Linked DNA regions of Homo sapiens: regions 2, 3, 4, 5 and 6 are each linked to region 1. The links are contacts of gene promoters, found by promoter capture Hi-C in blood cells and fetal thymus (Javierre and others, 2016). All regions are on one chromosome and are shown on one strand. Each heading gives the region's core, a stretch centred on a gene start or on the middle of the fragment in contact. The rest is flanking DNA. Distances are from core to core; before and after follow the strand shown.

What was found. The method cuts DNA at HindIII sites, captures the fragments that hold promoters and counts their contacts. A CHiCAGO score of 5 or more calls a contact.
Region 2: a contact is called between a fragment that was not itself captured here and the fragment with the promoter of OLA1 in region 1, in 3 of 17 cell types (total CD4 T cells, total B cells and non-activated CD4 T cells). The highest score is 6.1, in total CD4 T cells.
Region 3: a contact is called between a fragment that was not itself captured here and the fragment with the promoter of OLA1 in region 1, in 1 of 17 cell types (fetal thymus). The highest score is 5.1, in fetal thymus.
Region 4: a contact is called between a fragment that was not itself captured here and the fragment with the promoter of OLA1 in region 1, in 2 of 17 cell types (total B cells and monocytes). The highest score is 5.4, in total B cells.
Region 5: a contact is called between a fragment that was not itself captured here and the fragment with the promoter of OLA1 in region 1, in 1 of 17 cell types (total B cells). The highest score is 5.2, in total B cells.
Region 6: a fragment that was not itself captured here is called in contact with the fragment with the promoter of OLA1 in region 1 in 1 of 17 cell types (fetal thymus); the score reaches 6.0 in fetal thymus.

The regions. Positions count from the first base shown.
Region 1 is chr2:174,246,083-174,250,121 of GRCh38, forward strand. It overlaps OLA1 (Obg like ATPase 1), which reads right to left and starts at 2,450. Exons shown (of 11, transcript NM_013341.5): 1 at 2,370-2,450; 2 at 633-733. The coding sequence starts at 733. RefSeq lists a silencer at 2,236-2,755. The HindIII fragment of the contact is 2,463 bases long and covers 360-2,822 here.
Region 2 is chr2:173,393,959-173,398,040 of GRCh38, forward strand. No RefSeq gene overlaps it. Among named protein-coding and RNA genes, the nearest start is that of CDCA7, 41 kb to the left of the region's middle. The HindIII fragment of the contact is 3,447 bases long and covers 412-3,858 here.
Region 3 is chr2:173,361,155-173,365,876 of GRCh38, forward strand. CDCA7 (cell division cycle associated 7) reads left to right here. Exons shown (of 10, transcript NM_031942.5): 4 at 2,072-2,308; 5 at 2,664-2,741; 6 at 3,641-3,835; 7 at 4,298-4,438. Among named protein-coding and RNA genes, the nearest start is that of CDCA7, 8.6 kb to the left of the region's middle. The HindIII fragment of the contact is 1,295 bases long and covers 2,691-3,985 here.
Region 4 is chr2:173,265,922-173,270,139 of GRCh38, forward strand. MAP3K20 (mitogen-activated protein kinase kinase kinase 20) reads left to right here. Exons shown (of 20, transcript NM_016653.3): 20 at 129-2,094. The coding sequence ends at 829. All of the region lies in intron 2 of MAP3K20-AS1 (MAP3K20 antisense RNA 1), which reads right to left. Among named protein-coding and RNA genes, the nearest start is that of MAP3K20-AS1, 14 kb to the right of the region's middle. The HindIII fragment of the contact is 4,780 bases long and covers 22-4,218 here.
Region 5 is chr2:173,411,175-173,415,628 of GRCh38, forward strand. No RefSeq gene overlaps it. Among named protein-coding and RNA genes, the nearest start is that of CDCA7, 59 kb to the left of the region's middle. The HindIII fragment of the contact is 160 bases long and covers 1,425-1,584 here.
Region 6 is chr2:173,345,612-173,349,744 of GRCh38, forward strand. No RefSeq gene overlaps it. Among named protein-coding and RNA genes, the nearest start is that of CDCA7, 7.2 kb to the right of the region's middle. The HindIII fragment of the contact is 2,231 bases long and covers 1,756-3,986 here.

The DNA.
Region 1 (4,039 bases), core at 1,200-3,699:
TGAGGTCAGGGGTTCAAGACCAGCCTGGCCAACATGGTGAAACCCCGTCTCTACTAAAAATACAAAAATTAGCTGGGCGTGGTGGTGCGCGCCTGTAATCCCAGCTACTCAGGAAGCTGAGACAGGAGAATCACTTGAACCCGGGAGGCAGAGGTTGCAGTGAGTCAAGATCATGCCACTGCATTCCAGCCTGGGCGACAGAGTGAGACTCCATCTCAAAAAAAAAAAAGAAAAAGAAAAGAAAATATTACAAAACTCAAATTTCTGCTCTCAGAACTTTCAGATTTAGACTCTTTATAACAGCAAACCTTTTACGATTTCCACTACGAAATTCAAAACTGTCACCTCCTTCTCCATCAAGCTTATTATGGTGGAGCTTTCAAATCAATTTCCTAAAGTAGCCTACTGCATGGCCTCTGGTAGACAGCCTATGTAGGTACCACACATAGCCAACCAGCACTGAAATCAATAAAATACATCTAAACTAAAGCCTAATTTTGCAATATTAATAGTCCAGCTTCCTGGCCTCTTTTCTTCAACTTAAAGTTTAATTACCTCACGGTTCCCATTTCTACAATAGGACCCAAAATATTTACAAAATGAAAATCACAAAAGCCCCAACGTTCACCTACCCAACATTTGGCAATCCAACAATACCAATTTTCAGTGAGGTTCCAAATCTTCCAATGATTGGGGGTGGTTTAATTCCATCACCTCCCTTTTTAGGGGGCATCTGAAATACCAAAGCAAACATATGAACAAAACTTTTTACTATCCACATGGACCCAAAACACATTTCATCACATACAATATATTATTGAATTAAGATTAAGAACAAAACATACTGTATATAGCGATCCAAAACTAACACAGAGCTAAATCCACTTTTTTTTCAGCAAAAATGTTTAAAAAGTTCTGTAAACATATCCGTTGTCAAAAGAGTCATTGCTGAGAAGTCCCAGAAAGACTGATCTAAAATCAATATTTGTTGGGCCGGGCACGGTGGCTCAGGCCTGTAATCCCAGCACTTTGGGAGGGGGAGGCCGAGGTGGGCAGACTGCTTGAGACCAGGAGTCGAGACCAGCCTGGCCAACACGGAGAAACCCCGTCTCTACTAAAAAGAAAAACAAATACAAAAAAATTAGCCGGCCATCAGGCGCGCAGCCTGTAATTCCAGCTACTCGGGAGGCTGAGGCTCGAGAACTGCTTGAACTCGGGAGGCGAAGGTTGCGGTGCGCCAAGATCACGCCACTGGGCTCTGCCTGAGCGACAAAGCTAGGCTCTGTCTTAAATAAATAAATAAATAAATAAAATATTTGTGGCACCAGGAATCAAAGATAAACTTAGAGTTTAGCTACCAATCTTCCATCCAGACTGCTCACAAAACACTTTATATCTTAACCTGATATATGGTTATATGAAAGAAAGCATTTGGAAGCAAGTACACAGAAGACAGTCAAAGAAAATTCCATTGTGGAACCACCAGCAGCCAAGTCACCCTTCACACCAAACCATTCCTCTATAATCTGGAATCTTATCTTTCCCATTCGCCCACAACCCCCATTTTTCACATAGATGAACACCCACCAGGTACTGGGGTCCTTCCACCAAGTCCCTCCCACCTTTGGCACTGAAGGTACGGCTCATCAGTCCTCATAAGCAACCTCCAAAATCTACATTATGGTTACTATTTCTAATGGTAAATTAATCGACGGAACCTTTTTATTTACAAGTCGAAACTTTCTCTGTCCCTTACTAGTTCTGTCTCCAAATCATGCGTGCAGAATTACTCCCACCCTTGGACTGCAAAGTGAAATCACAAAGACCGCTAAGCTCACGTCTCAGAAGCTGGGAACTAAAACTGTCCCAGTCTTCTGGCTGAGAGTTGTACCTCCTAGGACCACGCTGGGGCCCTGCCCTTGCAGTAGTATTCCAGCCTCTGATCCCTGACCCCGAGGGCCAGGAATTTCCCTTCTCAGCGTCCTGACACCTGTTCCTGGCCAACTCCCAGGCCTCCAAAGAACAGATACAGGAACAGCGCCTGTCGGGTCCTCTGGCCTACAGAGAGGTGGCCGGCAGCCCACCCAAAGTGGGCCCCACCCCCCATCCTCCTCTCCGGACTGGGCCACCGGGCGTCCTGGCGTCGGGAGAAGGCTTTCCCCAGGGCTTTCCCGCGTGAGGCGTAGGCCGATCTCCCGACGCGCGGCCTAGTCCGACAGCGCCTCATTCATCCACACATCCCCAAGCCACCCGCTGCCCTGGCCCCATCTTGGCCACTGGGCCCGGGCCCCGCGCCAGCCTCAGGGCAATGAGCCCAGGCGCCGAAGACCTGGCGGAGATCGCGCCCCCGGGCTCCCTGAGGGCCTCACCGTGCTCGGCCTGGGCGATGACACGGGGTCCCAGCGGCAGCGAGAGAAAGGTCCTGCCGGCAGCTGGAGGCGGGGAGGAAGGAGGAGAGAACGCAGGCCCGTCCCCTCCGCCGAGCGGCACGCACGACGGCGGCGACAGCGGCGGAACGGGCGGGCCGGGCGCCGAGCGGCACCTGCGCGCAGACCATGGGCCCCGCCCCTCCCCGCCTTGCCCGCGCGTCCCGCCCATTGGCCTAACCGGCCGGGGAGGCGGGAGTAGGGCGGGAGGAGCCCAGGGTGGGAGGAGCCGCGCGGCGGCAGGGAGCTGGAGAGGGGAAGGCGCTGGCTAGGCCGTTCCCGGGAGCTCTAGTCTTCCGCTTCGGCACGTGGGCTTCTCGGTTCTAGGTCTCCGCTTCCGTCTGGCTGCGCGGCCTGGGTTACCTGCTCACGTTCACTCGCGGGCCTACAGCCCCAAGCTTTCCCAGCTGGACTGCGGAGTGCCTTGGGCCCTGACTTCCCTCCGGGAGATCCGGGGCGTCTGAAGTCAGGCAAACAGCCACACCAGCCCCGAGGACCGCGTGGCCGCTAGCCCATCTCCCTTTTCTATAACTTTATTCGCTCAGTCTGTGCGGAGAGAAGCTGTTAACTAAAAGTTCTTGAAGGAAAAGGGGCTAAGGGAAACTTTGGTCTAGGGATTTCTTCCTCGCCTTATAGTTAAAGCGTCGCACACAGGTACTGGATCACAGAATGCGTTTAATTGAGCCAATTTCCCCCCTTTTCCTCTTGGTAGTTGAGAGCAGGGGCCTTTGAAATTTGGGAATTTCCAATCTGGATTTCGCCACTCATTGACTGTATGACCCTAGACAAATTAACTTCTCTGGACTTCAATTTCGTTCTGGATAAAATGAGGCTATTAAAACCACCTTATGAGGTTATTCGTGTGAGAATAAAATGAGACAATGCGTGTTGAGCTCATAACAACAGTACTCAGCACATACAGAAAAGGCTTGTGAGTAGTCGCTGTTGTTAATATTAGGATTTCATCCCATCTCACCCACATCATATCAATACCATGAGCGCCACTGGAGAAGGAATTCTTTCATTTAGGTCCTGGCCTTCAGATGTCATTCAGGTATTTGTTGTAATGAATATGATACCTGTCCAAAAATTGTGACACTAGAAGCTCCTTTTAAAGGGATTAGTTGCTATTAATATTAAAGGATGTAAATAGGTCGCCATCCCCATTTTACAAGTGAGGAAACAATATCAGAAAGGTTGATTAATTTGGATGAAGTCACACAACTAGTAAATGGCAGCAGCATATTTCAAACCACAATCTAACTGAAAATCTGGCCGTAATCCCAGCACTTTGGGAGGCCAAGATAGGGGGATCAGTTGAGCCTAGGAGTTGGAGAACAGCCTGGACAACGTGGTGAGACCCCATCTCTACCAAAAAACAAAAATTAGCTGGGTGTAGTGGCACATACCTGTAGTCCCAGCTACTCAGGAGGCTGAGGTGAGAGGATGGCTTGAGCCTGAGAGCTCAAGGTTGCAGTGAGCTATGATCACTGCCGCAGCACTCTAGCCTGGGTGTAGAGCAAGACCTTATCTCTAACAAAATAAATACAAATAAAAAGTAAAACTAAAACTATCTGAAAAATCTGTTTCCTTTCAGCGAGAATTCATTTTTA
Region 2 (4,082 bases), core at 885-3,384, 850 kb before region 1:
CTAGCCAGAGATCTTACTTAGAGAGATCTTGGAGACAATCATAATTGTTGGTTGATGATGGCTTTTACCCATTTCTATTCCCAGAAAAGAAGGAAGGCGGCAATCCACAGCCAGTGCATGGCCTGCCTAACATACACAAACGTCCATATAAAACCTCTTTCCTTTTTGCACCCCAGCCTCTTCCAACCTCTTTCCCTACAGGATCTCCTTCTTCTTTCAGATGGAAAGGAAAAGGTTCCAAGAACAATTTGGGGGCCTGGACTTGGCTGATTTACCCAAACTTGTTTGGAGAAATGACTTCATTGTATGTTTCTGGCTCTATATTCCTGGTTTTCTCCTACAGGTTCTCTGGCTTGCTCTGCATCTGGGAAGTGAGGACTGTTGTCTATAGGAAGATTTCCAGTGGCTGGAAGCTTATGGCTGATGATGTAACTCAGCACCAAGTTCACACCAAATCCAGCATTCCTAATTCTAACAAGGTGCTCTTGATCCAAACTTAGGGCATTTGAGGCTCTACGTTCTTTCTCCCCTTCCTTTGTCAGCAAAAACAAGAGTAGGTCAGTAAACTGAAAACAGCGCAGAGAGGACAGCTTTCAGACTTGCTTAGTCAAAGAGCAGAGCTGCGTGTGTTGTGTTTGCACTGTCAGCCCACAAAAAAACAGAGAAGATTTAGGGAGAAAGGAAGGCTATTTACTGGAACAAAATACACGACAGTTCACATTACATATTTTCTTGATGGACACAAAGTGACATCCATACTGATTGACTGTCGGCATGTGCCTCTCCACGGAGCCAGGTTCTGTGTGATGGATAAGCCAGTCTCTGGCAAGTGTCAGGAAGATTATCAAAAGAAAGAGCTGTCTGTAGTTGTTCCCTTTCTGAGGAGATTGACAACTCACCCTAACAAAGGGAAACATTAGTGTGCTATTTGCGTCTCCCAAAGAGACTGTGATAAGATGATGTGATAAATGGTGGGGTGGGGGTGGGAGGGAGGTTGCCATAAAAACACATAAGGTAGCTAAATCGTGAAGTGCAAAGAAAACCTCGGCTCCCACAATTGATGAGGCTTGTTTATTTTAAAAAGGTGAGCTCTTCTGAACAACAAAATTGCCTGCAGCATAAGCACTGGTTGGAGAACAGCAGAAGTTCTCCAACCAGTGTTGCCAACAGCTTCAAGGGAAATCTTAAGTACTCCATGTCCTACCCTTTCCTCTAGTTGCTTTAACACGACCACCGAGAGCATGCGAAAGAAGACACGCCGTGATGTGGAGCAAACCTTAGGTACATCTTTCTCCTCCATGAAATTCAGAGTGGGCTCTGGGTCTGGCATAGCCCCAAGAACAGGGGTTTGTATATGAAATTCACAGAGGGAGTTTATTATGATTCAGAAACAAACAGGGTGAACTTGAGTGTATCCAAATAGGAAATTGTCCGCCAGAGAGGATTTACCCACAACTGCAGCCACTGTCACCCCTCATTAATTGCAGGGATGGCACCAATTTCCAGTGTTTTCAGGTCATCTTGGCAGGCTTGCTTCCCAAGCTAATATATGTGGAAGTCGATGTGCGGTGAACAGGTTGGACTTGGAGATGAAAAGTACTTTGACGGATTGCTAAAGTTCACTGGCACCTTCAAGGATGTTAAAAGAAAAACTTCAGCCGAATTACGAAGTTTAATTGAGCAACGAACGATTTGTGAATCAGGCAGCCCCCAGAATCACAGGAGATTCAGAGAGACTCCAGGGATGCCTCGTGGTCAGAACAAATTTATAGACAAAAAACGGGAAGTGACATACAGAAATCGGAGGTGAGCTAAAGAGACAGCTGGACTGGTTACAGGTTGGGGTTTGCCTTATTTGAACACAGTTTGAACACTCAGCGGTGTGTGACTGGTTGAAGTATGTCTGCTGGGATTGGCTAAGACTTAGCGATTGTTACTGGTGCAGACTCCTAAATTAGGTTTTCAATCTCATCTACCTATTAAGTTAGGTTGCAGTTCATCCACAAGGGCTCAAATATAGAAGTACGGAGTCCTTCTCAGGCCACATTTAGTTTGCTTTAACAGGGAGCACCTACTTTTTTCCTGCCTGACCCTGCATTTTCACAGCATTCCCAGCCCCCGAGTGCTACCGGGAAGTCTCTGGCTCATGGCAAACCAGACCCTGTCTAGCAGGCAGGGACGTCTCCTTTGGCCTGAGTTGTACTGAAAAGCCAGGCACTGGCAGGGATGGAAAAGAAAGACTCTTCTGAGCTTTGTGTGCTGTCAGCCATAAGAGCATTGACTAGTTGGCGAGTATCACATTCTGTCCACATGTTGGTGTCGGTAGAAAACATGGTCAATATAAAAAACCAGTAATAACACCGGGAAGCCTTTCTAATTTATCAGTGTTTCTTCCTACTCTGTGGATACTGGCCTCTACTATTACATTCTTTTCATGACCTATTTTTCTATATTTTTTCAATGTCATACTTTCTCCTGAGACTTAAAGCCGTTTGAATCTTGGAGTGGTTATCCTTTAATCCCTGTGTGGTTTGCATTTTCTCTTTTCTTTTCTTTTCTTTTTTCTTTTCTTGAGTTTTGCTCTTGTTGCCCAGGCTGGAGTGCAATGGAGTGATCTCAGCTCACAGCAACCTCCGCCTCTTGGGTTCAAGCGATTCTCCTGCCTCAGCCTCCCGAGTAGCTGCGATTATAGGCATACACCACCATGTCTGGCTAATTTTGTATTTTTAGTAGAGATGGGATTTTGCCATGTTGGCCGGGTTGGTCTTGAACTCCTGACCTCAGGTGATCTGCTCGCCTCAGCCTCCCAAAGTGCTGGGATTACAGGCATGAGCCACCGCGCCTGGTCTGTTTGCATTGCATTTAAAGCTGTTCCCTTAAGGACGACTGGATGGGAGGCTGAGGTGACTCTTTCACTCACTCCCAATTGATGATGGGAGGGCTACAAGAAACAGGAAGACAAATTCCACTAGTGTGTCTTTGTTGATCAGTGGGAATGACATGATCAGGTTATGCCACTCACCAACTTGGTGCTTTCCAAGACATTGGGAAGCCCTCACCTGGCCTATGGAGGAGGCCAGATATAGGGGTGTTTCCCTCCACATTTAGGTGGCCTCCAGGAGAGAAACTGGCTCCTTCTCCCTGGGGCCAATATTTATCTTCTGAAGGCTTCTCGGATCCATGGATTCCCTAGAGAACGTACGTCATGCTGTTTCCTCTCAATTGATCTTCTTTCAATTCATGCCTGTAGACAACCACGATTTTTGGATAAAATCCAACTCTTTTTTTACCCTAGAGAGTGTCTGGATTACATTACAGGTTATGGGGCCCTCTAACCCCTAGGATTATTGAGGCAAACCAAAAAATGTTTAAGAAAGCCTAGATCTAAAGTGGCCTGTATTTATTATTTATTATTTTCAGACTTGGTAAACAGAAAGTGAGATCCAAAGTGATTTAGAAACAAGTATAGTTGAGGGGAATGGCAAAGTGAGCAGTCAGTCAAAGAAGAAAAGTTTTGCAAGGAGTGGAGAGAAAATGGGTGGCAGGCAATCAAGCTAGACAGAGGAATCAGGGACATTGGAAGGAAAGAAGAGGGAGAATGTATGTGTGTGTGTGGAGGGGGGCGAGGGTGGGAGTGGGGAGAGTGAGAACAAACAATAAGAAGGCCAAGGAGAGAAATCATATTACTTGAGCAAAAACCGGAAACAATAGCATCAAAACAAACAAAACCCAGAGAACAGAGTCCTTCCCAAATTTTCCAGGGTTAGCAGCATCCACCAGGTGATCTGACAGTGACACCAGGTGGCTGATGACACCACGTAGAGGCCTTACCTTAAATCATTTTACCCTAAAAAGCCAAGCTTTGTTTTATAAACCCATCCTTAATGGAAACGGAATGGAAAGAAACCTGGAGATTCTGTATTCCAACTCCTTTACTTTACATTTGAGGACACCAGGTCCTCAAGTTATCAAAACTGACCCACCAACCGAACAAACAAAAAATACAGTCCAAGCGTGCAGACACAGCACTTCATTTTAACCAACTCTGTGACTCTAGCTTTTGTTACTTTTAATCTTTAAAA
Region 3 (4,722 bases), core at 2,088-4,587, 880 kb before region 1:
GTGTGAATCAGCCACATTTGATTTACCCATTCATCAGTTGATGGATAAGTGGGTTGTTTGCACTTTTTTGGCTATTATGAATAATGCTACTGTGAACATTCATGTACAAGTTTTTGTGTAGTTTTTGTGTATACTCTTAGGTATATACATAGGAATAGAATTGTGGGTCATGTAGTAACTGTTTAACCTTTTGAGAAATAGACAAAGTGGCTACACCAGTTTACATTCCTACCAGCAGTGTGTGAGGGTTACAGTTTCTCCAAATTTTTGCTAATACTTTTTTTTATTTTCCTTTTGCTTTTTTTTTTTTTTTTTGAGACAGAGTCTCACTCTGTCACCCAGGCTGGCGTACAGTGGCATAATTTTGGCTCACCACAACCTCCGCCTCCTGGGTTCAAGCGATTCTTGTGTCTCAGCATCTGAGTAGCTGGGACTACAGGCATGTGCCACCACACCTGGCTAATTTTTTATATTTTTAGTAGAGACGGGGTTTTGCCATCTTGGCCAGACTGGTCTCGAACTCCTGACCTCAGGTGATCTGCCCATCTCAGCCTCCCAAAGAGCTGGGATTACAGATGTGAGCCACCATACCCAGCCTTCTTTTGCTTTTTAGCTCTACTATGAAGTGGTGTCTCACTATGTTTTGTGTTTTTTTTTATTTTTATTTTTCGGAGACGGAGTCTTGCTCTGTAGCCCAGGCTGGAGTGCAGTGGTGTGGTCTCAGTGATCTCTGCTCACTGCAACCTCCGCTTCCTGGGTTCAAGCGATTCTCTTGCCTCAGCCTCCCAAGTAGCTGGGATTACAGGCGTGTGCCACTGTGCCTGGCTAATTTTTGTATTTTTAGTAGAAACGGGATTTCACCATGTTGGCCAGACTGGTGTCAAACTCCTGACGTCAGGTGATCCGCCTGCCCCGGCCTTCCAAAGTGCTGGGATTATAGGCATGAGCTACCGCACCCAGCCTTGCATTGTGATTTTGATTTACATTACCCTATGGCTAATTTGGATAAATTTTTAATGATGAAAACCTATATTACTTTTGGAATCTGGAAATATTTTCATTTTGAACTTCTAAAAGTAGATTAGAGAAGTACCTAGAGAAGTCAAATGTATAGACAGAAAATAGGATGATGGTTGCCAGGGGCGGAGGGAAAGAGGGAATGAGGAATTACTGTTTAATGGGTATGGATGGAGTTTTAGTTGGAGAAGATGAAAACATTCTGGAGATGGATGGTGGTGATGGCTGCACAACAATGTGCATGTATTTAATGCCATTGACTTGTATACTTAGAAATGGTTAAAATGATAAATCTTATGTATATTATATTATATATTTTTTAAAGTAGAGAATTGAGATCTGTTAATATAATTTAATATTGCCATAAACATTGAAGCCATATTTATAGGGGAACACATTTTTTTCCCTTTTTTTTTTTTTCAAGACAGGGTCTGGCTCTGTAACCCAGCCCTGGCATACAGTGGCACGAACACGGCTCACTGAGCCTCTGCCCCCTGGGCTCAAGCCATCCACCCACCTCAGCCTTCCAAGTAGCTGGGACCACAGGCATGCGCCACCATGCCCAGCTAATTTTTGTATTTTTTTTTGCAGAGACGGGGTTTCACCATGTTGCCCAGGCTGGTCTCGAACTCCTAGGCTCAAGTGATTCACCCGCCTCAGCCTCCCAAAGTGCTGGGATTACAGATGTGAGCCACTGCACCCAGCCAGGAGAACACATTTGTTCTTGTCAGAATTCTTTTAAAATACATAAAGATCTGTTTCTAAAGAAATGAAAAGCAGGTGGTAGGAATTTTAACATTTTAAAAAAAGGCTCAGAACCACAGGCCTAGGGACTATGAAAATAGCTTATAACAGTGTGGTCCAGATGGGCTACATGGAATTAAACTGCACTCTGTTGATGTACTCTTTGTGGTTCCTGATTTTGTTACCCAGAGGTATCAATGTTCAGTTAAAATTCATTTCATACAAGTGTCTCATTGAAAAGGGACTTTGTAGTTATACTGATGCAGCTTGTCTGCTGATCAAGTCCTAATGACTCAATTGTTGTGATTAGAGGCTGCAGTCAGTTCGGGAAGGCTGTAGGACCCGCAGCCAGTGCAGGCACTCTGGACCTCTCAGGGTGGCGATGAAGTTTCCAGCGCGGAGTACCAGGGGAGCAACCAACAAAAAAGCAGAGTCCCGCCAGCCCTCAGAGAATTCTGTGACTGATTCCAACTCCGATTCAGAAGATGAAAGTGGAATGAATTTTTTGGAGAAAAGGGCTTTAAATATAAAGCAAAACAAAGCAATGGTAGGTATCTGACTTTGTGTTAGAATTAATTTTTCCTCTCTAAGCGACTCATTACTTAAATCTGTTCCATCACGCAAAAGTTATTTTTTTCTGTTACATGAATAAAAAGTTATTTTTGTTTACCTGTGAAGTCTTCAATGTGTGCCTCAAAATGTGTTTCTTTCCCTGAACTACTTTTTTTAAATCTGTTAAAGGCCTGGTTAAGTGTATAGGGGAAATCAGAAACTCTGAATGTGTCAGCTTACTATCAAATATAAAACCATGAGATGTACTTGAGTATTTTCCAGAAGTTAGTTGCTCATTTTCGACAGTTATTCTAAGCCAATGATATCAGTTTAATTTCCTCCCTTTTTAGCTTGCAAAACTCATGTCTGAATTAGAAAGCTTCCCTGGCTCGTTCCGTGGAAGACATCCCCTCCCAGGCTCCGACTCAGTAAGTACCAGTTCTTGTTTATATACAGTAGTGTTTTGGGCACACCTAAGGTCGATCTGTGTTGTATTTAAAAATCTAATTTCTTTATTTGTGTGGCCTTCTAGACAAACGAAGGGGACCTAGAGGAAACCCCCTGACAGATCTCTGGATGATCCTCCTTGAATCCTGGGCAGTTTGGTCTCTCCTTGCTGTGCTCCTGTGGCACTAAACTCCTTTTGATTGGTTCTTTCTTTCCTTCCCAGCTAGACTAAGCCCCTCATGGGCAGGTAATGAAGATTGAAAACTTTTTTCTGTTCTCCAGTGTGAGCACATTCCTCCTACATGGTAGATGTGCAATAGATGTTTTTAAAATTGGAGAATGAAAATAAAAGAAGAAAATCACAATTTCTTATCAAGTTGTAGCTTGGTATCATACACAATTGCATTCTGAGGAATTAAGGTGGTACAACTTAGGGAGATTTGGTGTGTCTGCTGTGATAGAAAAGATTTCTTTTTCCTGGCTTTCCCTGAGGAAAGGAAAGATGGAAAGAGGGAAGCCATACAGATATCCCTCTATTTTGCAGTGTAGAAACTGAATGTGTTTCTACAGGGTCAAGAGACATCAGAGAAAATTTTTTTTTTTAGAACAGAAGATCATTTCTTACATCTTCATTAAGTAAAAGAATAAATAGCTCATCTCTCAAGTTGAAAGAAACTGGGCTTGGTATTACAAAAGCAAAATTAAGATGGCCATATAGGTTTTAGGCTCATTTTGCCATGCATTATGCAAAGGACAAAGAAAAAGAAAAAATAGAGCTCTCTTTACTTAAAACATCCTTAAGGAGAAGCTATGAATTCCCCAAAGTACTACTTCTCTTTATTATGGAATAAATGGATTCCCTTATACGTGCTTTGTTTAGCAATCAAGGAGACCGCGAAGGCGTACATTCCCGGGTGTTGCTTCCAGGAGAAACCCTGAACGGAGAGCTCGTCCTCTTACCAGGTCAAGGTCCCGGATCCTCGGGTCCCTTGACGCTCTACCCATGGAGGAGGAGGAGGAAGAGGATAAGTACATGTTGGTGAGAAAGAGGAAGACCGTGGATGGCTACATGAATGTGAGTTCTCCGCATTGGTACTTGCTCTTCTGATTCTCATCTTCGGTAGGCCTGGCATCATACACAGCACAGGTACACGCACATCCTTAACACCAGGCGATCCATAGTAAATGTTTTCCTCTAACCATTCAGAACTGTAAACGTCACATAAGCTTACTTGGTAATTTTATTAGCAGGCGAGAATTGGGTTTTCTTCATCTCTTCTTAATTGTAGGCATCGTTTCCAAAATGTCCAGTTAGGCTACAGTAAGCGTATGGCCTGTTCCCCTACCATAAGCTCTAGGAGAGATTTCCAGGTTGAAGTTTGTGTGAAGAAATTACAAGTCAAGTATCTGAGATTCAAAGCTGGGGAGAGCCAGTTTTGAATCTCTGTGTTTCATATTTGAATCTGTTTTTTCAGTTTTGAATCTCTTTCAGTTTTTCAGTTTTGAAGTTCTGTGTTTTGTATTCCTTGTAATGCAGGAAGATGACCTGCCCAGAAGCCGTCGCTCCAGATCATCCGTGACCCTTCCGCATATAATTCGCCCAGTGGAAGAAATTACAGAGGAGGAGTTGGAGAACGTCTGCAGCAATTCTCGAGAGAAGATATATAACCGTTCACTGGTGAGAGCCTCTAAATTACACCTGAGAATGTAAACATCTGTGAGAGGAAGAGAGCTTCTGTCCCTAAGCGTTGCCCAGGTTCTAAAGGGCCTAGCATGTGAAATCTGTACCTATATGTTTTTTTCACACAAGGAAGGAAAAGTTTTACAGTATCCCTGGGATTTAGCCCTCTTTCACAGTGGAATTATCTGCTTAGTAAGTCTGTAGTCATGGTAAATCTTTTCTCCTAATTTAGAAATCAATTCATTCAACATATATTTACTGCATATCTATTATGTGTGTAT
Region 4 (4,218 bases), core at 1,162-3,661, 980 kb before region 1:
TAGAATTTCTATGAATGGTAAAGCTTAGAGCATCCCAAACAGCCCTGAATTATCCTAAGACAGGCGTATGAATTAGACATGCAGCTTTAGTGTGGCTTAAAAGATGCTCATTTCCATTTCTCCCGCAGGTGCTGATTGCCAGTGGTTAGATACTCTGAGGATGCGGCAGATTGCATCCAACACTTCTTTACAGCGTTCCCAGAGCAATCCTATTCTGGGGTCACCGTTCTTCTCACACTTTGATGGCCAGGATTCCTACGCTGCTGCTGTGAGACGGCCCCAGGTGCCCATTAAGTATCAACAGATTACACCTGTGAACCAGTCCAGAAGCTCGTCTCCTACTCAGTATGGACTGACCAAAAACTTCTCTTCCCTACATCTCAACTCTAGGGACAGTGGCTTTTCCAGTGGCAATACTGACACCTCTTCAGAGAGGGGTCGATACTCAGACAGAAGCAGGAACAAATATGGACGTGGTAGTATATCACTCAATTCTTCTCCTAGAGGAAGATACAGTGGAAAGAGTCAGCATTCCACTCCTTCAAGAGGAAGATACCCTGGAAAGTTCTACAGGGTTTCTCAGTCAGCACTCAATCCTCACCAGTCGCCTGACTTCAAGAGAAGCCCCAGGGACCTCCACCAACCCAACACCATACCAGGGATGCCTTTGCACCCTGAGACTGACTCAAGAGCCAGTGAAGAGGACAGCAAAGTCAGCGAAGGGGGCTGGACAAAAGTGGAATACCGGAAAAAGCCCCACAGGCCATCTCCCGCCAAAACCAATAAAGAGAGAGCCAGAGGGGACCACCGTGGATGGAGAAACTTTTGATGAATTGAACTACATAGCTTTTCTAAGCAGGTTAAAAAAAAAAAAAAAAAGAAATGTAATGGTTTTTGATAATATGATCCCTTCAGATTGAATTAACGAAAAGACAACACTTCCAGTTTTTGGATTGGGAAATACCTTCTAATTGAGACTATAGCCAAACCAGGGCCAAAATTATGGATATTGGTCACCCAGTGATCATAACTAGGCTTGAAAATCACTACACATATTTTCTGCCTTGAGTGAACATTTTTAGAGGAAAGGTTATGCCATCTTTTTACCCTAACCACTGATATTCTGGTTAGCAGGGCCAGGACAAGGGGAAGGAAAATGAGGTCAACAAAAAAATCAAATTTTTAGGAAAAGATAAGATGAATGTTACTGATTTTTCCTTTTGGCTGAGGCTGCAATATGGCCTGGCAAGGCACTGTTACTGATCTTGTCTTTAACATTTTGATATTTTGTTCATCATAATTTTTGCATTTATTTTTTTAAATATTGCATTAAAATATCATTTAGCTTGATTATCGAGTTTTTTGGTTTGAGGTTTTTTGTTGCTTCTTTTTTCTTTTCTTTCTTTCCCCCTCTTTTTTTTGGATGTCCCCTTAAATTTTGTGCCCAAGGCAGGTACCTCACTCATCTCATCCTTGGCTCAGCCCTGCTGGTTAGTATTTAGTATTTATTTTAGTAAGATATTTGTGTCTGTATGATGGTCAGAGTTGAACTGATCTGGCTTGTCATTTTTCAGTAATAAAAAAAGTTACTGAATTTAATGTTGAATATGATGCATATCTCATTCATTACGATTTATCAGAAACCAAAGATTTAAATTGCCTAGATTTGTGGTTCTTTCTCTTCCTAAGTTCCCAGCGACTGCTTTCAAATACTATTTTCTAAATTTCACCAAAGGAGCAAAGAGGATAAAACAACACTCCATAAAGGCCTCTTGGGATGTCAGAAATCTAAAATCTAAAAGAAAACAGACACAGAGCAAGACAATAACATCACAAGCTAAAAGCCAGAGAAATTTAAAATTACCAACATCCTTGTTGGAGTAAGACAGTAAATATCAGCCTTGCAGCAAGACAGCTCTGAGCAGCTGTGGGCAAAGAGGTAAACCAGTGGGGGTGCAAGGAGACTGTCTGCAGCTTAGGGCAGAAATGGTGGGATCCAACTTGTGAAATGCTTCATGTTTTACAAACCAAAAAGTCAGGTAGCAACAAACTTATTGTATGTCAAATCAATAAATGTTACTTTCAATATTCTGAGATTCTGTTCAGCATTCACTAACCCTGTTTAGCATTCACTAAGCCCTACATAGGATTCTCAGTGCTCTGTAGAAATCCAGAGGACACTCTTCTAATTCTGTGGGTTTGAATTCTTTTTTAAAAGAAGCTGGTCATCAGAGTACATGCATTTGTTCTCAGGGTAGCTCCCCTGCTGTGTGTGATACATTACTTGAGGCCTGGTGGGGAAAACTGTATTTCGGTAGCATTAAAGTCAACGTGGGTGGGGCATGGTGGCTCACGCCTGTAATCCCAACACTTTGGGAGACTGAGGCAGGAGGATTGCTTGAGCCCAGGAGTTCAAGGCCAGCCTGGGTCACCAGCCTATCTGGGTCAGATAGGGAGACACCATCTCTACAAAAAAATACAAAAATTAGTTGAGCATGGTGGCATTTGCTTGTAGTCCCAGCCACTCAGGAGACTGAGGCAGGAAGATCACTTGAGCCTGGCAGGTCAAGGCTGTAGTGAGACGTGACTGCACTGCAGTCTGGGCAACAGACCAAGACCCTGTCTCAATCAATCAATCAATCAATCAATACTAAAGTCAAAATTATAGGAAATGACCTTTATTTACAAGGGAAGTTGTCATCACCTAAACATTGATTCAACAACTTGATTTTATAAAGTTTTACTGGGTGCCAGATGTATTTACAAGCAAAAGCAATGGGAATGGTGTAGTCAGTTAGTGAGGGCCTCTTTTCCATCATGTGTAACCAACTTCTAAGGTTTTCAGCTCCACCATGATTCTTTCTCATGAAGCTATCAAGCACAGCCTGTTTTCAATTATTTTTGCTTTTTGTCCTTCATTTAAAGTAGACTAATGCAAAATATGCTATCTTAATATCATGCTGTTTCTAAATAAGCAATAAAATATTTTCTGTGATCGGAATTTTTGGATAAATAGATGAACAGTCTTGACCGAGTCACTCTGAAAGGAACACAAAGTATGGCCTTCATTGTGAAACAAAATTTGCATTCTGGGGAATTGCTGAAGAGTCTAGTTTAAAAGGCACTATGCAGATCGTTGCTAGTTTCATGCCACTTTCTTCCATCTTGCTTTCTTCGGTTATGGGGTAGGGAATCCAAGCTGGTAATAAAATAACTCAATGATCTCAGCCCTATTTAGTGCAGTCAGTGACTGCAAAGAGGTTATTCCACCAGCCCACAAAACTGACCACTTTGTAATATCTCATGGAAAAATACTTGTCAGCATCAATGCTCCCAGACAAAATCAGAGTAAGAACATCTGCAGTCTGCTTCTTGACTGTAAAGAAATAATAAGTTGGATGTTCTATTTTTTTCTTTTCCTAATGATGCTTATTCACCAAAAGTCACTTGCCAGGTTGAAAGATCAATGTAAGTCAAGAGCAAAGCAGGGATTAACAGGATTTTTTTTTCCCCATAAAAATAAATTAGTAGCCAACAATGAGAAACTATTAGTTGCAAGGAGTGAGGTGGTTAAGACCAAAAAAAAGAAGAAGAAAATAAAAAGGAAAGGGATATTATTCTAGGATTAGGAGAAAAAAATTACAGTAGAACCAAATCGAAAGAGTATATCTTGGACAGGGAACCTCTAAATGTGGAGATTTTCCCTAAATAGGCTTCAGAGCTAGTTTGGAAGTGCCAAGTCTACACTGGTTGCTACCATCGAGGCAGTCTTTAGTCCAGGCAAGGCCCAGACAAAGCAGGATGTTTAGCTCTTTGCACAGTCACCACATTAGCAATACCATGGACCTAGGCTGAATAACTGGATAATCCCAAATCTGTCTAGGAGAACTGGAGATTTTTTTTTTAATCAAGGACTACTTCTGAAAGAAATACAATTAGCAATTGTTTTCAGCCAATTTATAATGAATATTGCTCATAAAAATAAAAAGTATAATATTTAAAACTATTTACAGTAAAATTCAGAACAGTAAAATCTGACCTGGGAAAATTAGGTAAGAAACAGTAACTATAAACGAAAACTCACAGTGGCAGAAGCTATAATTGGTAACGAGCAGTATGAATAACAACAAAAAATTGATATGCAAATCTTCATTGTAAAATTAAAATTGAAAATAATCGATTCCATGGGAAAAAAATCAGTACAATAAAAAATCTGGC
Region 5 (4,454 bases), core at 255-2,754, 840 kb before region 1:
AGATGTTTTAAACAAGTTCATTGAGCTGTATTCTGGTAGTATTCTGGTAGTGGTTCTATCATACCAAGCCCATTAAATAAACTCAGGAAAGGAAATAATCAAATTAAGCTGTATATCTACAGGGTCAAAGATTGGGTTAAAATCTTAAAACTTAGACATTTCCAATAGTTAATTTCTTTCTTTCTTTTCTTTTTTTCTTCTTCTTTTTTTTTTTTTTAGAGAGTCTCACTCCTTAAGTGATCCTCTCACCTCAGCCTCCTGAGTAATTGGGTAGTACACCACCACTCCTGGCTAATTTTTTGTATTTTTAGTAAAGACAGGGTTTCACTATGTTGCCCAGACTGGTCTTGAACTCCTGGGCTCAAGCTGTCCGCCCGCCTCTGCCTGCTAAAGTGCTGGGATTACAGGCGTGAGCCACCATGCCTGGCCAACGGTTAATTTCTTTTGTTCATTATCGTGACCTCAATCATGATCTCAAAACTAATTTGATTGGATTTTTGGTTTGTTTCTAACTCGAATCTAGCTATTTGCCTGACAAGTTCTTCTGGTGCTGCAGAAGTGCATTCTGTGGATGAGAAATGGTAAAATCTAAACCTGAGATATTATTCTTTTTACATATTAATGCCATCACTTTCTCCCAAGTCTATGGAGGGCTATTTATAAGGCACAAAAATCCTCAAAACCAAACCCCCAAAAAACAAACACTCATAGCCTAAGAGTTAAATTATGTAAGCAATATTGTTGTGCTTGTGGTTAGAAATAGTAACACTTTTTGGAAGAAACGCTTCAAAATGCTAACAGTGGCTATCCCTGTTGATTAGAGGTATATGTAGAAAATATACAAACTAAACCCAAAAACTTGTTTGAGATTCTTAAGTCTGCTTACATCAGTGGTCCTAGTGGTCCTACTTATTATCCTTTTTTTTTTTTTTTTTTTTTTTTTTTTTTTTTTTTTTTGAGACGGAGTCTCGCTCTGTCACCAGGCTGGAGTGTGCAGTGGTGCAATCTTGGCTCACTGCAACCTCCGCCTCCTGAGTTCAAACGATTCTTCTGCCTCAGCCTCCCAAGTAGCTGGCACTACAGATGCCCGCCACCATACCCAGCTAATTTTTGTATTTTTAATAGAGACTGGGTTTCACCGTGTTGGACAGGATGGTCTTGATCCCTTGACCTTGTGATCGGTCTGCCTCCACCTCCCAAAGTGCTGGGGTTACAGGCATGAGCCACCATGCCCGACCCCTACTTATTATTCTTTCCAAGGCAATGGCTCTGGGTCATTTTCACTTTTTTTTTTTTTAAACTGTTTGCATCTTAGTGCAATGACTTGCTCTAATAAAAGCCTTCTGTTTTAAACATATGGGAGAAGAGATTAAAAACACTTACATTTTTGCCGAAAATCCTTTAACATGAAAAAATGTTTCCAAAGCTTTCTCAGACTTGAATTTCTTTGAACTACTGTTTCTCTCTATATGTTTTTTACCTGATTCTGATTCCAGATTTTATTGAATAAATAAAAGCAGAAGTATTGTATGTGGTTTAACAGGAAGAAGATAAACTAAAATAAGGAGGCTTAATTCCAGCAAAAGCTTTCAACATCACACAGTGTACAGATTGAGAAGGCAGATGCTGGAAGCAGAGGCCTGTGGGCTGATCCTGGTCACGTGGCCTGGGCACCTCACTTAACCTCATTTTCCTCAATTTCATCTGCAAAGTGGGGACTAATATTTAGCAGCTTCCTAATAGAGTTGCTGTGAGGATTAAATGTGTAACTGTATGTAAATGCTTAGAACACTACCTGGAAGTGCTCAATAGGTGACAGATGTTATTGCTGTTGTTAGATCTGTAGGTCAGTGGCAGAGCTAGTAAAACTGTGCAAAGTCTAACGTGGGTAGCCTGTATTTTTAAAAAGCATTCTATTTCCTTTCGTTGAGCTGTTCTTTGCAAGGAGGGGCCTCGTGAGGGGCAGGGATTGGAGAACGGAGGGTATCAGAGTGACTATTTGGTGTCCTTGCTTCGGTGCCATACAAAAACTTGGTCATTTGTTTTTATCCCTGGATGCTGCTCTAGGAACTTCAACAGATACTAAAGACAGGTGCAGAATTATGTCCTGGTGACTAGCAGTTTACTCTCTTGGCCAGGACCACAGGCTAGAATTTTAGTAAGAGATCATCCTCTGAGCCTGGACTTAGGAAATAAAAAGACCTTTTTTTTTTTTTTTTTTAACATAAGGGTACCGAAGCGTTGCAGCACATAGCTGTCCTTCCTTCCTTTTTTTTTCTCATTCTTTTTCTTTCCTTTATGATCAATTCTTTTAAAAACAATCACTTATAAAAACTTGGTTGCCAACTGATCAATAAAAAGCATTGACTAAAAATAGAATAAGTTAACGAAAATGCAACTAAAAAGTTAATTATGTTGTTAACGTAGTTAATAGCACACATGACTTGCCCATTGTTGGTGTTTTGCTGCAGTATCCTAGTACCCTGGGCCTTCCCAGGAGATGTAAACCCCTCTCTTGCTCCCATCCCCTGAACATGCTCATACACAGAGCTCATTCCCCCAGTCTCCTTTTCTTTTCCTCCTTCTACCTCAGGGAACTCTCCTACAGCCTGCTCTGGGGACCAATTTTATGCTGAGGGCAGGAGCTGCTGGCTCTGACGCGGCTGGGGCGCGTTGACCTGGAGCTTTTGTCTGGGATTTCTCACCCCTGTCTCCGCCATGAGGGCTCCTCAGAACCCATGGGCTCGGAAGAAATGCATTTCATTATTTCGACCAGCTTTTACTTAACTATTGTGTTAGATTACAAGACTTTCCAGCAAAATTAAATATTAGAATAAAAATTATTTGCAAAAGTACTCCTCATGTCTTCTCTTGCAACTTGGACCACATTTTGAGTGCATGCAGTTAACTATAAGGCATTCTTTCTTTGGCTACGAGTTCAGATGTCTTGTCTTTATTAGAAAACAGCCCTGTGCAAGCCCCAAATTGCTCATATTTCACTTTTTATCTTTTGATTCACTTAGTATATTATTCTCAAATCACTTTTTCCAATTCTTAACTAAGTTGTCTTTTTTTTTTTTTTTTTTTTTTTTTTTTTTTTGAGACGGAGTCTCGCTGTCGCCCAGGCTGGAGTGCAGTGGCGCAATCTCGGCTCACTGCAGGCTCCGCCCCCTGGGGATCACGCCATTACTAAGTTGTCTTTAATTTTTGCCTTTGCACCTTGGTATCCCCTCAACCCTAAGGCGTATACTCTTATTTGCCTTAAAGAAATGGAGTAGGCTGGGCGAGATGGGTCACACCTGTAATCCCAGCACTTCGGGAGGCCGAGGTGGGTGGAGCACCAGGTTAGGAGTTTGAGACCAGCCTGGCCAATATGGTGAAACCCTGTCTCTACTAAAAATACAAAAATTAGCCAGGTGTGGTGGCACACACCTGTAATCCCAGCTACTGGGGAGGCTGAGGCAGAAGAATTGCTTGAACACAGGAGGTAGAGGTTGCAGTGAGCTCAGATCACACCACTGCACTCCAGTCTGGGTGACAGAAAGAGACTCCATCTCAAAAAAAAAAAAAAAAAAAAAAAAGAGAAATGCAGTAAACCTAAGCAACTGCCTTTCTGCATGTAGTCCCTTCCCTAATACCCCCTGAAGATTGTGCTTTCAGTAACTTCTAGTCATGGGCTTCCCCCCCTACCATGGGATAAAGAAACTTACATGTCATTGTCCATATTTGCTTAGAGGACTGGTAAATTTGATTAGTCACAACTAAGCCATCAGACCAGGAACCAAGAAAAAAATCTTAAGTCTCAGATAAAGCCCTCTTTCATTAGAATATAGATTTGCTGGATCTGGATGGATCTCAGAAAGAAATTAGATTTGTCTCAACACTTTCTAGATGAAGAAACCAAAGACCCAGAGGTTACTTTTTTTGGCCAGCTGCCACATGACTAATGGCAAATGGCAAAGTTATAACAAAAGCCTAAGCTTTCTTACATCATCTGCAGAGTACGAACATTCATTCATTCATTCATTCATGTCTTTCTTTCTTTTTCCTTTCTTCCTTCCTCCCTTCTTCCCTCCTTGTCTCTTTCTCTTCCCTCCTTCCTTCCTTTTTTTCTTTCTTTCCCAACATTTATTCATGCCCACTATGCACGTATTTCATCATAAACAAGTGATTTATTTTCAGAATTGAAAACCTGGTGACATATGGTCTGATGAGTAGGAGTGCACTAATAGACCTACAGAAGCAGAATGTTTGAAATGGGAACTGCCCGGGAAAATCTGATTTACGTGGTTATTGTCATCAGAGCTTGCCACTTTCCCTGTAACGCACACCACACCAGTTTTACTGTGGTGCCATAGAATCCTGATTCAAAACAAGGCAAGAAGGACCAAAGAATAATAAGAGAGTACGTGTACACGTCCAAACCCATGCATAGAGATGGAGCTGCCTCGGAT
Region 6 (4,133 bases), core at 1,621-4,120, 900 kb before region 1:
TTTTTTTTTTTTTTTTTGAGACTGTCTTGCTCTGTCGCCTGGGCTGGAGTGCAGTGGTGTGATCTCAGCTCACTACAATCTCCACTTCCTGGGTTCAAGCAGTTCTCATGCCTCAGCCTCTGGAGCAGCTGGAACTATAGGCATGCACCACCATGCCCAGCTAATTTTTTCATATTTTTAGTAGGGACAGAGTTTCACCATGTTGGCCAGGCTGGTCTCAAACTCCTGATGTTAGATACAGCTAGGTTCCTCTTCAAACAGTTTGCCAAGTTCCCCCATTCTTTATTCTCTAAATTCCAAGTACCCCCCCACCCCGGCTTTTGCTGGGCATTAACCTGTCTAAATATGCCTAGATATGATAAGCCCCAGTCCACATTCCTTTCCTTATGTGGGAATAGGTTAGCTTTTTAGTCCCCCAGAAGTGACTGCTTCCTCCTCTCCCTCTCTCCTCTATTACGCGCCTACCTTATCTAAGAAAGTTTGAATATTTCACCAATCAGGACTAGTTTAGACTGTGCAGTCCAACCCCAGCCAATGGGGGAAAGACACAGAGGTAGAATCTGCATTACGAATAAAAATCCCTACTCTACTTTGTTCTGTGTGCTCTTGTGATCGTGACTGACACAGGCAGCACCCTTCTGCCAAAGTAAATTTGCCTTGCTGAGAAATCCTTTGTCTCAGTGCTGGTTCTTCTTCGCGGCAACTGACCTCAAGTAATCCACCCACCTCAGCCTCCCAGGCTGAGTGCCAGGATTACAGGTGTGAGCCACTGTGCCTGGCCTGTTTCTATGAATTTGCCTATTCCAAGTACCTCATATGAGTGAAATAAGGCAATATTTATCCTTTTGTGCTTGGCTTATTTCACTCAGCATAATATTTTTAAGTTTTATCCATGTTCAAAGGATCGAAATTTTATTTTATTATTTTATTTTATTTTTTTTAGACAGGGTCTCGCTCTGTCTCCAAGGTTGGACTTGGAGTGTAGTGGTGCTATCTCAGCTCATTGCAACCTCTGCCTTCTGGGTTTAAGTGGTTCTCTTGCCTCAGCCTCCTGAGTAGCTGGGATTACAGATGCCTGCCACCACGCCCAGCTAATTTTTTGTATTTTTAGTAGAGATGGGGTTTCACCATGTTGGCCAGGCTGGTCTGGAACTCTTGACCTCAGGTGATCCGCCCACCTCAGCCTCCCAAAGTGTTGGGATTACAGGCGTGAGCCACTGGGCCTGGCCCTGTGTTTAACTTTTGAGGCCTGCTGGGGGACTAATTTTGAATTCTAGGTTGATAGGACAATGTGCAGATTAGCCTCTTCCCTGGGACCCCCTACCAATATCTTGCATTGGTTTACTTCAGAAATTAAACCACCTACAAATGAGCCCTAAGTCTCCATTTAGTTAATAAAGTTCTTCTCTCTGCAGCAATTCTCTTTCCAAAGAGTTGCTTGAAAGGAACAGATCTGAAGAAGACATAAATGATTTATATAATTCACAACTAGGACAATTTAGAATAAGTTGCCTAAGTGATGAACAAAGACATTTAACACCTTTTATGGGTGTTTCCAGAGAAAAAAATGATCAAATTAAAAACAATGAAAAATTCTTACATAAAAACAGACAAAAACTTTGCCAAATGGAAAAAAGAAATTATGGAAAGGTGAACAAGTGACAGGGAAACTGTGGATGGTAAGAAGTAAGCTGAGTTAGGTTTTGGCTGTAATTCAGCTTCCATAGTGTTGGAACTGACTGATTCAGTAATCAAAGCTTGACTTTCCCTTGTGCAAAGTGTTTAATGATGTTTTAACACTAGCAGTTAATATATTTCACAATAGACAATGTTCATCCACGGAAAAACAAATATTTCTTCTTGCCAAAAAAAGGTCAGATTTGCACTCATTTTTCCATATTCCTTTTTCTAATCAGGTGTCAGATGTCAGCAAACTGATCTACTTAAAACAGTGTTGACATACAATGCAAAACAAACATACCAATATGGCTTGGAGAGCCAGCATTTGTGAACCAAACAGCCAGGGTGATAATGGGCTGGGCCCTCCAACAGAGCAGCTTTTGACAATTGAAGCCTAACGTTAGGCCTTTTAGCTATATTGCCTTTATGCATCCTGAAAGCAGGCACTGGAGACGTAAATCTGTAATTAGGGGTTATTTAAAACAGAGATTTGTGACCTGACAGACTGCAAACTGTCTATATCCACAAACACAGTGAAATTGCTCCAGCCCTTTGTCTCCAGGGGTATCTGGTCTATTGAAGGTCTCTGGTTTACAGGGGCGCTTGGGTTCATGTTATACCGCCTGAGAGATGGGTGCATGGGACCGAGAGCAGCACATGAAACATTAGCATTGTTTCTAAATCTCATCTAAAAATGATACATGCTATTAGCGGTTGCATTCTTTGTCCGAAAACCAGTCATTCTGAGTTGAAGTTTAACTTACCTCATTATGTAAGTGCTCTGAACCTCACAGTCAAGTTTCAAACTTAATAATAGGAAATGGAATTCTTTGTGCAAGGTGAATAAAAGGTATAGAGAAACACAGAATTCTTAGGGTTTGTAGTAGCCCAGGGAATTCAAAGCTCTTTAACAAGAGATTGATATTTTAGAATATTTTGAAGATTTAAAATTCCAGGGCTGGGGATGGTGGCTCATGCTTGTAATCCCAGCACTTTGAGGGGCCAGGGCAGGCGGATTGCTTGAGCCCAGGAGTTCGAGACCAGTCTGAGCAACATGACGAAACCCCCATCTCTACAAAAAATAGAAAAATTAGCCAGATGTGGTGGCCTACATCTGTGGCCCCAGCTACTTGGGAGGCTGATGTAGGTGGATTGCTGGAGCGCAGGAAGTTGAGGCTGCAGTGAGCCATGGCTTGAGCACTGCACTCCAGCCTGAGTGAGAGTGAGACCCTGTCTCAAAAAAGAAAAAATGTAAAAATAAAATAAAATTCCACCTACAACCACTTTAGTTGGAAAAATAGCTAATGCATGCAGGACTTAATACTTAGGTGATGGGTTGCTAGGTGCAGCAAACCACCCATGGCACAGATTTTCCTGTGTAACAAACCTGCACATCACATCCTGCACATTTACCCTGGAACTTAAAAAATAATTAAATTAAATTATACAAATAATACTTATAAATATAATAAGTATTTACTGAGTACCTGTTGTATTAACAGCCCTCATATCAAGTAGTGTCTGTGTAAGTATGTACTTATAAAATGTCATTTCCTTTTACCTTTTGCTGTGGCCTGTGCCATCATCTTTCCCTGGACACTGATTTTCCATGCTTATTCATTTTGTGTCTTTCATTTAAAATGAAAATATTTACCAGTGTGTGATTAATACAGTGACTTAAAACCTTTATGAGGCATCTAAAATTGCATGACAAACTTGCATTCCTATTTATAGGACCCTGTAAAGGAACTGTATATTTAACACAATAAATATATTGATATTGATTGTCAGAACAAACTCTCCAAAACTTAAATATTTTAAAATTATTAAATGTTTCAGATTAAAAAAAAAAAAGAAAAAAAAAAGCACAGAAAGTAAACATGTAAAAGACACCCATGTACTAATCACTGGCATTTGTCACATTTAACAATTTGCCATATTTGCTTCCCATGGTTTTTATTTTTCAAGAAAGCATTGTTAAAGCACTGACCTTAGACAAATTAAATTTAGCAGTTTAATGGAGCAAAGAATGTTTGCAAATCGGGGATCCCCTGAACCAGAGTAGGTTCAGAGAGGCTCCAGAGCAGCTGCATGGTGGAAAAAGATTTATGGACAGAAAAAGTGAGGTACAGAAAACAGAAGTGAATTACACCAACAGCTGGATTGGTTACAGCTCAGGGTTTGCCTTATTTGAACACAGCTTGAACAGTTGGTCACCCTTGACTGGCCAAAACATGGTGGTTGGTACAAGAGTAAGTTAGTCTGTTTATATACCCAGTTGGGTTACAGTTCATTGTGTATGGAGAAGCTTTAGGCTGAACTTAAAATATGTAAGGAGGCGGCTTTAGGCTAAACTTAATTTAACAGCATTAATGATAGCTGGGTGCAGTTATGTACACCCATAGTCCCAGCTATGTGGGAGGCTGAAGTGGGAGGATCACTTGAGGCCAGAA